Linked DNA regions of Homo sapiens: all the other regions are linked to region 1. Evidence: promoter capture Hi-C in 16 types of primary human blood cells and fetal thymus (Javierre and others, 2016). All regions are on one chromosome and are shown on one strand. The core of a region is centred on a gene start or on the middle of the fragment in contact, and the rest is flanking DNA. Distances in the headings are between cores, read along the strand shown. Region 1 overlaps GLYATL3 (glycine-N-acyltransferase like 3). Region 2 holds the start of DEFB110 (defensin beta 110). Region 3 holds the start of DEFB113 (defensin beta 113).

Region 1 (4,996 bases), core at 831-3,330:
AAAACTCAACATCCCAAAACTGAACAAACAATTTTCCCTGCTACAAATTGCTCCAGATCTGAGATTTTTCCAGGGTTTCTGATCTCAGTGAAAACTATCACCAGCTGTGGCTTTCACAACGTAGAAGCCCAGTAGTCATCCTTGACATTTCTCTCTCAGCATACCCTACAGCCACTAAATTATTAAGTTCTGACAACTCTTCCTTTTAAATAGTTTAAGTAACTGTTCACTTTTCACCATTATCATTGCTAGCATTCAGATCCAAGCTACCACCACCTTTTGCTTAGCTTATAGCCTCCCAACTAATTTCCAAACAGATTAATGCGCTGCTTAAGGCTTTTTTTTTGGTTTTTATATTACATTGAAGAATTTCCTTGAATTAACAAATAAAACCTATGTTAATCAAGCCTCTTCCTACTTCTTTTTGTTGAGACACAGTCTGGCTCTGTTGCCCAGGCTGGAGTGCAGTGGCGCTATCTTGGCTCACTGCAACCTCTGCTTCCTGGATTCAAGTGATTCTCATGCCTCAGCCACCCAAGCAGCTGGGCTTACAGGCATGTGCCACCATGCCCAGCTAATTTTTGTATTTTTAATAGAGATGGGTTTTTGCCATGTTGGCCAGGATGTTCTCTAACTCCTGGTCTCAAGTGATCCATCTGCCTTGGCCTTCCAAAGTGCTGGAATTACAGGTGTGAGCCCCCACGCCTGGCCCCGTTTCTACTTCTTGAGTTTTTCTCTTCTCCTTGTCCTCTCCTTACTCCAGACTTTCTCTGCACATGCCTTAAAAGGGTCAGAAACAGTGTTAAAAGTTGAGCAATTATATCCAACATAGTTAGCTGGAAGATGAAAGTAAGAAAATAGTATAAGAGCAATTTGGTAGGAACAAAAATCTTTCAAATATGGGGTCTGTTTTGGAGGTGCGGGTGAAGGTAGAAAATTCAGAATGTAACGAGATAAGGGAATAATTATTTACAAACTGTTCCAAGCTGCTTAAGAGGCCAATTAGCATAATGACTAGTAGTATAGGCTTTGCAATCCAACAAACCCATGTTCTGATCATGATTTGGCCACTTAGAGCCTGCATGACTTTGGTGACTCATAACACCTCTAAGCAAGAATTCCCACAACAAAGCAATACCTTATCCCTCACCAGGATTAAGTTATATACATCTCATATTTGGTACAATTATTAGCACATAGTTAAACGTTAAATGTCAGGCAAATTATCATTAGGAAGAAAATAAGGCTATAATAATATTGCTATATATCAAGCAGGATTAACTCATGCTTAAGCGATGCTAAACATAATTAGCGTCCTTAGGGCATATTCTCCTAAGAGGTTTATGGACTCTGGTTACTTGGTGCTTTCCCCTCTGGATCCAAGGCTAGATAAGTTTCCAGGTAACTGTGGGCTCAGGATGAACTAAGCATATATTTACTCTTACTGAGTCCTATTTTTTTAATTAAAATGTGTTTTACTTCAGCCAGTTTGCTTCCTTTTCTCAGAATGAATGCCTGAAAGTTGGATTTTCCCTTATCTTTGTAGTCAGAATTTTGTGACCTCCTTGGGGATAAGAAACCAATATTTTCTATATAGCTAAGTCAACATTATCAAGACAAGGCAAATCTAACTATTGTGTTAGTGCCTGCTTTTATTATAAATAGAGAACAGAGCTGGTGATGCTTATCTCTTTCTTTACTGACCTTGAAAGGTATACATACACAAGCAATCAGAACCCAAATTAAGAAATAATGACAAGAATAAGAGAAAACTAAAATTAATATTTTAATTATGTAAGCATTTTAATTTTCATTATAAAAAAGGATACATGATTTAGTGAAAATAACAGATTGGAATTAAAATGGCAGCATTCTGGCTTTGCCTCCAGTACTGATTATAAAGAATATAATCTTGAAAAAGTCATTTATTTTCTCTGGTCCTCAAATTTTTCATATGTAATCAAAGGGTTAAAATTTATTATCTTATCAAAATTCTATGAGTATATACCTATACATATAAAAGAAATGAAGAGAATGTATATATATGTGTATGCATATATGTTATATATTCATTTGCATACCCCCAAACACCCCTATATATAAATCTTAGTTTTATATGGGAAAGTAGACTATAAATAAGGGGGCTGAAATAGGTTATAGGTAAAGTCTAGTTCTATGGTGACAGCATTTGTTTATAGCATCAAAATGCCCATATTGTCATTCATCCAAGGCAAATAAGCAGTGGGAAGCTGTTAGAAATGCAAATTTTGGGCCCTACCTCGTAGAAGGAGAGGCCTAGTGATGTGTGTTGCAACCTGCCCTCTGGGTGATTCTGATAAACACTAAAATGTAAGAACCACTATATTTGAACATTCCCAGGGCAGTGAACTATAGGCTAGAGTCCTAGGCAGAAGTAAAGAGCAAGTAATTAAAGGGGAAAAAGGAGGTTACTCTACAGAGAACTTGGTGGCAGAGGTGTTAGGAACAGAGGTTGATGAGACATAGCAGTGGGGACAGGGGAATATGATGGCAGTAGGGAAGCGGTGTGGCTTTAAGAATACAGAGCAGAGGTCCAAGCAGCAATCAAAAAGCAGTAGCCACGTGGTCCTCTGTTAAATCATTTGTTCTCATGCAGTAATTTCTCCTAGTACACTAAAACTGCTGGCTTTAGAACCTATTCTCCTACAGTGGATCCTACAGGAGGACAATCGTCCTCAGTCTTCAGCCACAGCTACTCTTCACCCCCACAGCTATTTACTGGAGAAACCTGAGATACGAAAAATTAAGGCTTCTCAAGTGGATCCTGTATATATTCTCCAGACCCTTTCCAACAACTCAAGAGTCCCCTGATTCCCATTTTAACTCTCCCCTCGTTGGCAGCCAAGAGTGTGTGTATGCTCAGGGAAAGTAATAAAACCACTGCAGTTTTTTACTGGGCTAGAGGTGAGGCAGGCCAGAGAAAGTCGCAGGGGTGAGAATAAGCCTGTGGAAGCGACAAGGCAAGAACTCAGCATGGAGACTCTTCAGGAGGCTTATAGACGCCGTGTTGTCATCCAGGACGTTCCCCTGAGAGGGGAATCCCCGGCTTTGCAACTTCCTGGCCAGCGTGAGGGCCACCAGCCGGCTGTAACCTTTCCTGCGATGTTCTGGCAGGGTGTAGCCATGGCACATGGTGGCAAACTGGTCTGTGATGGACCAGGAGACCGGGTTTCCCTTCTCATCCCGGACACACACACTAGGGAAGCAGGAGATGAGGTTGGCGATGTACCGGAGACATTGTTCATTGCCTCCCCGGGACCAAGTCCGGTTGAGTAGATCCGCATTGGCAACACTCAGGTAGGTTAGTCGTGGGGAAGGCCCCTTGCTAGACCAGAATGACACAAAAACAAATAGGACCTCAGACTCATGTGGTTATACATAACTACACATTTTTTTTTTCGAGACACAGTCTTGCTCTGTCGCCCAGGCTGGAGTGCAGTGGCGTGATCTCTGCTCACTGCAACCTCTGCCTCCCGGGTTCAAGCAATTCTCCTGCCTCAGCCTCCCAAGTAGCTGGGATTACAGGCACCCGTCACCATCCCAGCTAATTTTTGTATTTTTAGTAGAGACGGGATTTCACGATGTTGGCCAGGCTGTTCTCGAACTCCTGACCTCGTGATTCACCCCTCCCGGCCTCCCAAAGAGCTGAGATTATAGGCGTGAGCCACCATGCCCGACCTATAACTACTCTTTTCATATTGGTTCAAACTGAGAAACCATCCCTGAGAGGGCACCTAAGATTTTCAGTGAGTTAGAATCCACCATTCCCGATTTACCAACACCTTTCCGGGTTTCATTTCTGAGAAGACAAAACACTTATTACATCAAATTTAAGTCGTTGCTTCTAATTTTATGTTCACTTGCTTTTGCCTTCAGCACAGGTTAAGGAAAGTGTTTCTGTTGTTAAATAAATTAAGTTTGGCCTGCAGCTCCCTCCATACCTTGAGTCCCCGCGTGTTGAACTGCAACCTAACTTGACACAAAACCAACCCTAGAACTATAATGCACAGCTGAGTTTGTTATACAAGTCAATCACAGGCAGGTAAGTGAGCAGACCATGCCCAAATATACCTAACTGTTGCCAATCAGAGGATTTACCTACTTTGCTTCTGTGTCTGGCGTATAAAATCTCCCACTGGTGGGTATAACTCTGAACTTCTCATTCTGAGTGCTGCCAGATTCATGAACTGTTCTTTGCTCAAATAAACGTTGCTGAATTTTTTTTTTTTTTTTTTTTTTTTTTTTTTTTTTTGAGAGCCTTGCTCTGTCTCTCAGTTTGGAGTTGCGGTGGTGCAATCTCGGCTCACTGCAACCTCCACCTCCCCGGTTCAAGCGATTCTCGTATCTCAGCCTCACGTGCGTGTGGGATTACAGGTGTGCCACCACGCCTGGCTAATTTTTGTATTTTTAGTAGAGACAAGGTTTCACCATTTTGGCTAGGCTGGCCTCCAACTGCTGCACTCCAGTGATCCAACATCCTAGACCTCCCAAAGTGTTGGGATTATTACAGGTGTGAGCCACTGCACCCAGACCAACGTTGCTAAATTTAATCTGTCTAAAGTTTTTCTTTTAACACTTTCTGTAAACAACAACAACAACAACAAAAACCCTCAGAATTGCTTTTATTTAGTCCTGACTCTGCTGAAATCCTCTCTGAGGCCTTGGTAAGTCCAGATTCTTGAAGCCCTAATCTTTTGCTCAATAAAAAAAAAAAAAAAATGTTTTAGAATAGAACTTCTGTGGTTATGCATCCATGGCCAAAAAAGAAATAAAATCTCTTAATATGCCAAGCATATGTGCATGCTTTAGAAATGTTTGTTCTTTTTTTTTTTTTTTTTTTTTTTGAGAGGGAGTCTCGCATTGTTGCCCAGGCTGGAGTGCAGTGGCTCACTGCAACCTCTGCCCCCTGAGTTCAAGCGATTCTCCTGCCTTAGCCTCCCAAGCAGCTGGGATGACA
Region 2 (4,996 bases), core at 705-3,204, 490 kb before region 1:
CTGAACTCTTAATTTTAGTGCTCAATAATATTTGTTGAGTTAAGTGTTGCATAGTGATATACTGAAGTGGTCTTCCTCCTATCAACTAATGCTGCATTCTCAATTTTTCTTTTCTTTCCCAGAAAGGAAATAGATAACTCAAGTTCCCCATAATTGATTTAGTCCAAAAGTTGTTATTTTTATTTTATAATATGAAGCATTTGTTGCAAAGGATAACAATTACTAGGTAAATAAGTTCATCTATCTTGATTTTACTTTTCTCACCAGTAATGTGAGTATATTTGATTAGAAACTCTAAGCAGCTTTTAATTCTTTATTAATGTATGCTGCAGATTCTATGACTCTGTGAAACATTTTTCCTAGACATTATAGAATGAATGAGTTAGGTTTCCTAGACTAATATGTGGTCCCTTTCAGCAGCATTAGCATTCAATGATCTTGTTAGAAAAGCAAATTTTAGTCCCTATTCCAGATCTACTAAATCAGAAATGCCGGGGGTGGGACACTGCAATCTGATTTTAGCAAGCTTTCTAAGGGATTCTGATGCAGCTAAAGTTTAGGAACCACTGTCTTAAAAATTAACTATGTGGTAGGAAATAATTGATTAATTGATTTCTTTTTCTTTCTTTTTTTTTTTTTTTTTTTTTTTTGAGAGGAAGTCTCACTCTTTTACCCCAGGCTGGAGTGCAATGGTACAATCTTGGCTCATTGCAACCTCTGCCTCCCAGGTTCAAGTGATTCTCCTGCCTTGGACCCCTGAGTAGCTGGGATTACAGGTGCCTGCCACCATGGCCGGCTAATTTTTGTATTTTTAGTAGAGACGGGGTTGTTTCACCATGTTGGCCAGTCTGATCTAGAACTCCTGACCTCAGGTGATCCACCCGCCTCAGCCTCCCAAAGTGCTGGAATTACAGGTGTGAGCCACCACACCTGGCCAATTGTTTTTCTTTATAGCATCAGCTTCTGAGTACTGGGCAAAACTTCCAGCTCTTTCTCACATATCCAAAATAATAGTTTTTGCAAGCATGCAATTTAGATCAGATATGAAATTTTCAGTTCCATAAACAGAATTAAAACATTGAACCTGAAATTTTGAAATCAGATGACTATAGAAAATTTATGAATCATACAAAGACTTGGCCGGGCATGGTGGCTCATGACTGTAATCCCAGCACTTTGGGAAGCCGAGGCGGGTGGATCATGAGGTCAGGAGTTTGAGACCAGCCTGACCAACATGGTGAAACTCTATCTCTTTTAAAAATACAAAAATTAGTCAGGCGTGGTGGCAGGCACCGGTAATCCCAGCTACTCAGGAGACTGAGGCAGGAGAATCACCTGAACCTGGAAGGCAGAGGTTGCAGTGAGCTGAGATGGTGCTACTGCACTCCAGCCTGGGTGACAGAGCCAGACTCCATCTCAAAAAAAAAAAAAAAAAAAAAAGACATATAGAATATTTCTCACATTTTTAGTGAATCCAGAATTTACTGATTATTTAAATAATTGCATATTATATTAATTGAAATAAAGTTATTTAATCTCCCTGGTTCTCATTGTTTTATCAGCAAAACAAAACTGATCTCAATGGAAACTTTTTCTCTAAAATCTTATGATTCAGGCATTCAACAATTTTATACTAAGGCATTAGAATACTTAATATTACATATAACATAGAATAGAGGAGATGATTACTATAACATTTAGCAATCCAAACACATATCCCCTATAAATAAAATATCTTAAAAACTGTGTTGTTTTCATGAAAGTCTAGTTAAGGTTACACAGCAGGTTTTACTTTTATGAGAAAAATTTAATAATACTTTTTGAGTTCATGTTCTTTGAGGGTGGCACTATTCAACCAAGCATACAAATGTTCTTGCTCTTGATAAGCCTCAGTGGTTAAAAGTACTTCCCAGGAGAATCCACAAATAAAAGGGATCTCTGTTTCCTTATTTCAAAACAACTGACTTGAAAAAGGAGGTCTGTTGCCCCCTTTTTTTAAGAAACTCTCTACCATGAAGATTCAACTTTTTTTCTTTATTCTGCACTTTTGGGTCACAATTTTACCAGGTAATATGCAAATATTTGTGGGGATTTATACTAACAAATTTGAGAAGACATAAGTTGTTTCTTGATAAAAAATATGATAATAACATAGGGATTAAAACATCATTTCACAAAAATGTAATGTGGTATTTTAGATTGGACTCCAGAACAGATAATAAAGACAATAGTGAAAAACAGACAAAAATAACAAGTATGAAAACTGGCAAAATCTGAATAGCTTAGTAAATACTATTACATCAACATTAATTCGTTAATCTTAATTAACATTACCAAGTTTATGCAATATATAACATAAGTGGAAGCTGGCTTCCACCAACTTTGCAACTCTTCTGTGAATCTAAAATAATATCATAACAAAAAGTGATGTGAGACAGAAATGGAGAGAGATTTTACTTTGTTGAAAGTAATGATCAGAGACTTCAGACAGATTGGACTTGAACAATGTATTTGAAGGCAGAAATAATAATTATTGAAATATCGAAGTATCACTAGACCAGTGGTTCTCAGAGAGGAGTGAATTTGTGCTCAAGGGAACATCAGGCAACGTCTAGAGACCTTTTAGCTCATCACAACTTGTACTACTGGCACAGTACCAGTTGTAGATAGAACCCAGGATGCTGCTAAATAACCTACAATGCATGGAACAGCCCCTTAGAGCAAAGAATTGTCCTATTCAAAAGATCAATATTGCTTAGAGTGAGACACCATGCCCTTGAGCTTGGCATCCAATTGACAGGGAGTATATTTAATTGATACTATTTGAATGAGGAGATGAATGCTTGCAAAGGAGATTAGCAATCCAAGGACACAAACTGGAGAACACATGTAGAGGTCAGAATGAGGAGAAAGAAGACAATAATGTTTTAGAAAGGTGAAATAAGACAAAGAATGAATAAGAGAAGGGGTGGGGTCAGTCCAAGGTGCATTCATGGACAACAGTGCCAAACATGACAGAACTTTTGCCAAAAGTGAGTATAATTCAGGTGTCTGTCACGGGTAATCACATATGGGTTTGATAATAATAACTCCTCAGAAAATGTAGAATAAGTAATGATCTTTAGAAGTGAATATTTAAATTGTGCAGATTAACTAGATGCTCTTCTATGCTTTTGTTTCTTTAAGTTGCTTCATACTCTGAATTGCTTTGGTTACATTGAGAAGAAAGCCAATATTAATAGTAGGACTTGGTTTTATAGCCATTATACCAATGACATAGATAATGTAGCTCTGAGTCTATGTATTAGCTAACAGGTATTACTACTCACCATCAGGTGTCAGCTGTTGGAACTGCAGACAGACTGCCTAGGCCAAAAGGCCTGGCCTTTGAGAAGACCAAGCAATAATTAATAGCAGGAAACAGTGGCATAATTTATTTGTTTTCATATGTGAAAATATTAAATCTGTCCTTTGGTCAAGAATTTGATGTGTATACAAAAAAAAAAGGCTACAAAACAAATGACTTCTGAAAACGAATCGGCCAGGGTACAATTTAAAATATAAAATAAAAAAATTTTGACTTGGTACAATTTAAAATATAAACTTAAAAAAATTGACTTGGAATAGATCACATAACCAATCAAACCAATGTCCTCAAACCCCCTAAATATATTCAATTCTAAATAAGAAACTTCTAGTGAGAGTCCATCTTTAAGCTAAAAAAAAAACATATCTTTTCTTACAGCTTTGACTATTACAAAGTTATTTTTGTATTGTGTCAAATTTTGTGTTTCTTATAATGTGCAAATTTTAGTTGCAGTTTTGCTCTCCTGGACATGTCTTCTTGTGACCCCAGCTACAAATCCCTCACCCATTCTTTCATGATTGATAAGAAAATATAAAGCCAGAGTAGGAGTTAACACACTTTTTCTAGAAATAAGTGAGACAACCAATATTGTAGGTTTTATGAACCCTATGATCTCAACTGCATTATTTTAATGCAAAAGCAGTTATAGACAATGTGTTAGCAAATGGGTGTGTCTGCGTGCCACTAAAATTACTTCCAAAAATAGGTGGCAGGGTGGATTTGGCTCCCTGACAATAGTTTATTGATTCCTAGTCAAAAGGTTTAATAGTACACACAGTAATTGACAGAAATTGTTTGTAAGTTATTATTTTAGAAACTTTTTTGTGAAAGAAAAAAAAAGGTATCACTGGTAATTTCAGAAATCATGTAATGGTTAACAATGGCTCCACTTTTTTTTTCTTTATCAATGTTGTTATTAGACACATGTCTGAGTTAGATGATTTCTTTGGGAAATAAACCCCAAATATTCAGGGGAGTTGCAGGAATTTAGACAAATTCACTAGCGTTGCCTAGCTCTTGACATTTTAGAGAAGCAAAATCAAGCTACAGTGAAAATCACTTGAAGAAGAATTCATAAAGCACAACATTCAGTCTAAATAATGTTAGTGAGAGCAGAGAACAGGCAGCTCAAATGCAATTAGATGATTGCAGAGAGAGAGTCTGACCAAAAGATAAATTATGGTCACTTTTTTTCCATTGATTTAGGGAACCATCCTTGGGTCACTGCCCAGTTTCTTGTAAGACAGAAAGTGGAAACACCTAACTTAAGTCCAAGACCCTTTTTATTTCTAGAATGTAGCTTGTACCAAGGGACAGTAAATTCACTTAAACTTTCCTCCATAGGTAGGTGGACATTTTCACTCTATAATCTTTTGCTTCATGGACTTTCTCCTTTTAAAACATGGATGTGTCATAGCTAGATGGCTAATTTTAGTCATTCTTCCCTTCTTACAGCCAAAAAGAAATATCCTGAGTATGGTAGCTTGGACTTGAGGAGAGAGTGCAGAATAGGTAATGGTCAATGTAAAAATCAGTGTCATGAAAATGAAATTAGGATTGCTTACTGCATAAGACCTGGAACTCATTGCTGCTTGCAGCAGTAACGATGACAGAAGAAAAGAGTCACAA
Region 3 (4,996 bases), core at 1,768-4,267, 440 kb before region 1:
AGTTTAAACATATTAGCACATGTAAATTATATAAACTAGTGCCTGCAGGCAATAAGCATTTAATAGTTGTTATAAGGTACAGCAGAATCAGGCATGACAGAAGCTTAGTCTTTCAGACTCATGGATTCTAAATATATGAACTCTCCGCACTGGAGCTTATGTAAGAGCTTTTGGGTTGGAAATAAGTAAAAGTTGTGGCAGAAAATCCAGCTACTAGCATCCGCCTATGCCATCTTGTGTTTTCTTGGTAATTCTTATTAGCTTCATCTGTAAAATAAATGTTGTATGATTCTTTCAGATTTGAAAATTTCTCAAATTGCCAATCAATGTCACTGTTATATAGAATTAGTCACGTAACGGATTTTTTTACTTTAAAGTTTTGTGGCCATCCGTTCATTGAAACATACTGTGTTTTGTGTTTGGGAGTGGGGAGGAGTTGCAATAATCCAGTGACTGGTAGTGAAGAGCAAAGAATGGGAACGACGTTATGGTTTTTCTCTGCAAAGAAACCATATGTTGTTTTAGGCTGTTATTCCTAAAATGTGGAAGCTGAGACCCAGTGACTGACTGACAAACCAATACTTTATTGGTATTGACTTAAAGAAAGTATCAAAATTTTGATTAGCAACTCTTGTAAGAGAATAGCATTGCATTTGGTATATTCTTCTGATCATCTCTCTTCTCAGCATCATACCCTTTACTTGTATTCCCAACATCCACCTCTTGGCCTAGAAAAGTCTCCCTCATAGGCATTTCTCAGCTGAACATCATAAAGCCTAACCACCCTCTTTTACAAAGAACTTACCTCTCCAGAAATCCTTCCCTGTAGCTCTAAACTATACAATTACCACCTGTGATTATCTAACATTGTAAGAAGAAAGATAAAACTTTTTTTAAAAAATCTCAAACTCCTAAATTCTGATTCAATTAAGTAGAAATATGAAGGCTCATCCACCTTACTATTTAATTCACACATTTCAGGTCAATTCTCTATTCTTAAAAATTTTCTCTGTACCTCCTCTTTTTTCCCTTAATCACAACACCAATCTCATTCTCACCCAACTTTCTTCATTTTTGTCTCTTTCTCCCTTAAAAAATCACAATCCCTTAATCACAACCCCAATCTCATTCTCACTCAACTTTCTCTATTTTTGTCTCTTTCTCCCTAAAAAACAAAAAGAAACAAATAAAATGATTTTGTAAATAGAAATATACAATCTGGATTTCTCCCCAATTATACCATAAGATGCACATTGTAAGCAATAAATAACTCAATTAACTTGCTTTCTATGCATCTTGTTTGATTCTACTTATGTATTTTCCTGGGAGAAGTGAGGCCCTTACCTTTGTTCAGTGTGATTCAGATATAATTTTACCCAACTTCACCTTTAAACAGATAGGGGAAAATATGCAATTTATGAGTTTAGCTGATGGGCCAGCTCAATAGAAGTGGCTTATTTTATACTGATAAATTGGATATGGTAGCACTGAAGCAAAAATGGGCCCTATTGTCCAAGGTCATTTTCTTACACATGCTGTCACTATGATACTGCCCGCTTTTTAAAATTTGCCATTGCTATCTTTCTCTGCTTACATACAATTAGTTTTATTAAATCTCCAACAGTTCAAAGGGCTCTTTTTAGCATTTTATAGGGAGAAAATATTGAGAAAATAGATTTTTCATGGTCTGGCTATAAATACATAGGTACCTTTTGAGTGAGGAATGAAGTACACAAAAGACAAGAGGACTGGACTGCTGCTTTTTAAACTCAGATTACATAATATATTTCTAATTTATTTCCCTAAATGACAGAAGGAGTTAGAATATAAATTAAATACAAATATAAATAAAAATAACGATCTCATCTAATGATAATATAATATCATTAAGTTGTAAGGATACATCTTTTTGGATTTAAAAACCCAGCTCTAGATTTATGAAAGTGGACCAAATTGTTTAAATTCATATATCAATTACTTATTTATTTTTTACATGTTTTCTACTTGATCCTTGCTATGAAAACTCCAAATATGTTTGGTCCTACCAATCTGGACTTCAAGAAGAGACTCCTAAGGCTTAGATAAATGAATATTTATTCCAAATATATAGATGGTAAACTGAGAACCAGACCCCAAGATTGGTTTTCCCTACCTAAATCTAGTGCTCTTTAGATTCTTAACACACTGCTCTCTCCTATGAATAAGATAATTTCATGACTGAGTCATCATTACATGGCATGTAAATAATGATACTGATTATCCTTATAGTGTAACTATGATAATTGCTAGTATAACAGTATTAAAACAGTGATATAGAAATACTTTCTATTTCTAGAAAAATTGAATCCCAGAAACAGTGTATGGTTCAGGCCATGTGTACAGAGAATAACCACACTTGATGCAAACCCAACATACAGTTGAGAGAATGAGGAGGGTGGAGGCTGAGAGAATGAGCTCTGTCATCATATAACCTGATAATTAATCTCTACTCCACCAATGACTACATGTATAATTTGTGAGCCATTACATATTCTGTCTGCGTCACAGTTTTCTCAATTGGAAATTAAGAAGTTCCTATGTTATAGAATTTGTCATGAGAATTAATCCTTATAAAGTTCTTAGAACAGCCCCTGGTACATAATAAATACTCAAGAAAGCATGTAGTCAAAAATGTAAATGATGTTGATTATGTGCTTTCAATTAATTAGTGACCAAGAATACTTTAACCCCATTGTTTACTTACAAAAATGAAATGAATTCATGTTTGGCTCACCGAGGTTGTAGCAGCACTAAACTCTCTACTATACTTGTTTGCTGTTTCACAATGCTTACATGAATATGCACTCAATCTGGAAAGTCAGCATTAATCAGAATTGTAGGCAGCATTAATCAGAATTGTAATCACGCCAAGAAGGCTGTAAAAACAAGAACCCATATTTCTTTTACCAAAGACTAGCACAACTCTGAGACATTTTGAGATCTGTCCCCACTTTACTCAAGTGTAACTGCATCAGCAATGAAGATACTTTGTATTTTTCTGACCTTTGTCTTCACTGTGTCTTGTGGTCCATCAGGTAATATTTGTTATTATAAAAAAGATGTGAAAGGCAAAATGTTCTTATAAATGCTTTACTCTGAAAATAATAAAAACAAATAAATTATTGTTAGGAGATTTCATATGAACTCCTTATAAGGCAATTTTCTCTATTTTTTCATGGGGGAAGAAATGAGTAGAACTGGTAGTTGAGAAAATAATTTTTAAAACTTCCTGAGATGTAGAATTAAATTTATTTATTGTGTTGTTTTGTGTGATGACACTATAATTTTTTAGATACTTCCCACTGCCTTCTGTTTCAAAATCAATTTTACCAACTGCTATTGTAGCTACCATCAAAATTAAGCTTTTTACAGCCAACCTAATGATTGCTAGGGGTAGAGAGAAAAGGGGTTGGAGGTGGATGATTATTTAGAACACAGAACATGTAGGCTATTTCTTCCATGTCTTTTTCTCTTTACTCTTGAGGAAGCACACACAAATTAGATATTTAAAAATGTTCTATTTATTAAATGATAATTTAAAAAGCTGGTGACAAAAGCAATATTGTTAGATAAATAAGTATATTATACCAGCTGAGAGAGGGAAAAATTTCAATAGAGTTGCTTGGGCATGATTTCAGAAACAAAATGGTTTAACTCTACATTTTAAAGAGTTTATTCATCTCTGTATCTAAGGATATTAAATCTGGACTTATGGTCATAGCTACTTTTTCCTAGTTCCACAGAAAAAAACAAGAGAAGTTGCAGAGAGAAAAAGAGAATGTCAGCTTGTTCGTGGTGCTTGCAAGCCGGAATGCAACAGCTGGGAATATGTATATTATTACTGCAATGTTAACCCCTGCTGTGCGGTATGGGAATACCAAAAGCCAATCATTAACAAAATCACTAGTAAACTCCATCAAAAATAAATTATAATTATAAAACACTGTATAACAATTTTACTAATAAAAATGAATTTTTGCTATCTATCAATCTATATTTAAGTTGTTGATCTCTGGCCTTCTGGATTACACAATTATACCATGGCTAGTGAATTCAATGTTGGCTTAGTACAAGAGAAATAAAGAAAAAAAGAGTGGTAGCATCTTCTTCATTAAATTGGCAGAAGTTTATCTCCAGCCATGAGACAGAGGACTTTTGATTCTTGTTCTCTTCATCTCTGACCTATTTATTTGCCTGGTACAGAAACATTTATTTTCATATGATCTTTCATATAGTAAACATAAATTATGGTTTATGTGCCTTCTCTTAGTTTCCATATAAATGTGTTTGTTTCTTGGACACAAAGTTATATAGATGCTAATCACATAATAACAGAAGACTGATAAAAACAATTTTAAGAAAGAGCTAATCAAACTGAAAAGGGAGTAAAATGGAATATATTAACACCTTACCCATGTAAAAATACATCAAAAGAGAAAAACAGCAGGAGGAAAAACACTAAACCCTAAGAGTAGTTATGTTGGAGAGATGAGTTCATGGCTGATTTATTTACTTCGTTATAATATTATATTGTTCTACATATATACTTATAATTTTGTGATCAGGATAAAAGCAAATTAAAAACATCTTAACAGCTTTTTAAATTTTAAAATAATATGAAAATTTAGAACAATATAGAAATGTTCAAAGATAAAAAAGAAAAGTCACTTCTAATTCTAACATCCAAAGCTGACTATTATAATCAATCTTAAACATAGGCTGCCAATCCAAGGGTCTTCTCTCTTGGTCCTCAAGAATTTTATTTAACTTCTTTCATCTTATACTTCAATACTTAATGCTTCTGTTTTTGTCCTTGTCTTCAATGAATTCATTGGGTTTCCAAGTTTCCACATTCCACATTAATTTCTATTATACTATTAAAATAACTTTAACATAAATATTCTTATTAATTATAAAGCATCAGTAAAACTTGGCATTCAGGATTTAAAGTATCCAC

The links. Contacts are between HindIII fragments. The CHiCAGO score rates a contact against its expected background, and 5 or more counts as called.
Region 2: a contact is called between the fragment with the promoter of DEFB110 here and a fragment that was not itself captured in region 1, in 2 of 17 cell types (megakaryocytes and erythroblasts). The highest score is 7.2, in megakaryocytes.
Region 3: a contact is called between the fragment with the promoter of DEFB113 here and a fragment that was not itself captured in region 1, in 1 of 17 cell types (erythroblasts). The highest score is 5.1, in erythroblasts.

What each region holds. Positions count from the first base shown.
Region 1 is chr6:49,524,856-49,529,851 of GRCh38, reverse strand. It overlaps GLYATL3 (glycine-N-acyltransferase like 3), which reads right to left. Exons shown (of 6, transcript NM_001010904.2): 6 at 1,774-3,364. The coding sequence ends at 2,938. Among named protein-coding and RNA genes, the nearest start is that of C6orf141, 23 kb to the left of the region's middle. The HindIII fragment of the contact is 8,083 bases long and covers 1-4,996 here.
Region 2 is chr6:50,018,952-50,023,947 of GRCh38, reverse strand. It overlaps DEFB110 (defensin beta 110), which reads left to right and starts at 1,954. Exons shown (of 2, transcript NM_001037497.2): 1 at 1,954-2,067; 2 at 4,823-4,996. The coding sequence starts at 2,013. The coding sequence ends at 4,971. The HindIII fragment of the contact is 4,807 bases long and covers 529-4,996 here.
Region 3 is chr6:49,967,646-49,972,641 of GRCh38, reverse strand. DEFB113 (defensin beta 113) reads left to right here and starts at 3,017. Exons shown (of 2, transcript NM_001037729.1): 1 at 3,017-3,074; 2 at 3,775-3,965. The coding sequence starts at 3,017. The coding sequence ends at 3,965. The HindIII fragment of the contact is 3,298 bases long and covers 106-3,403 here.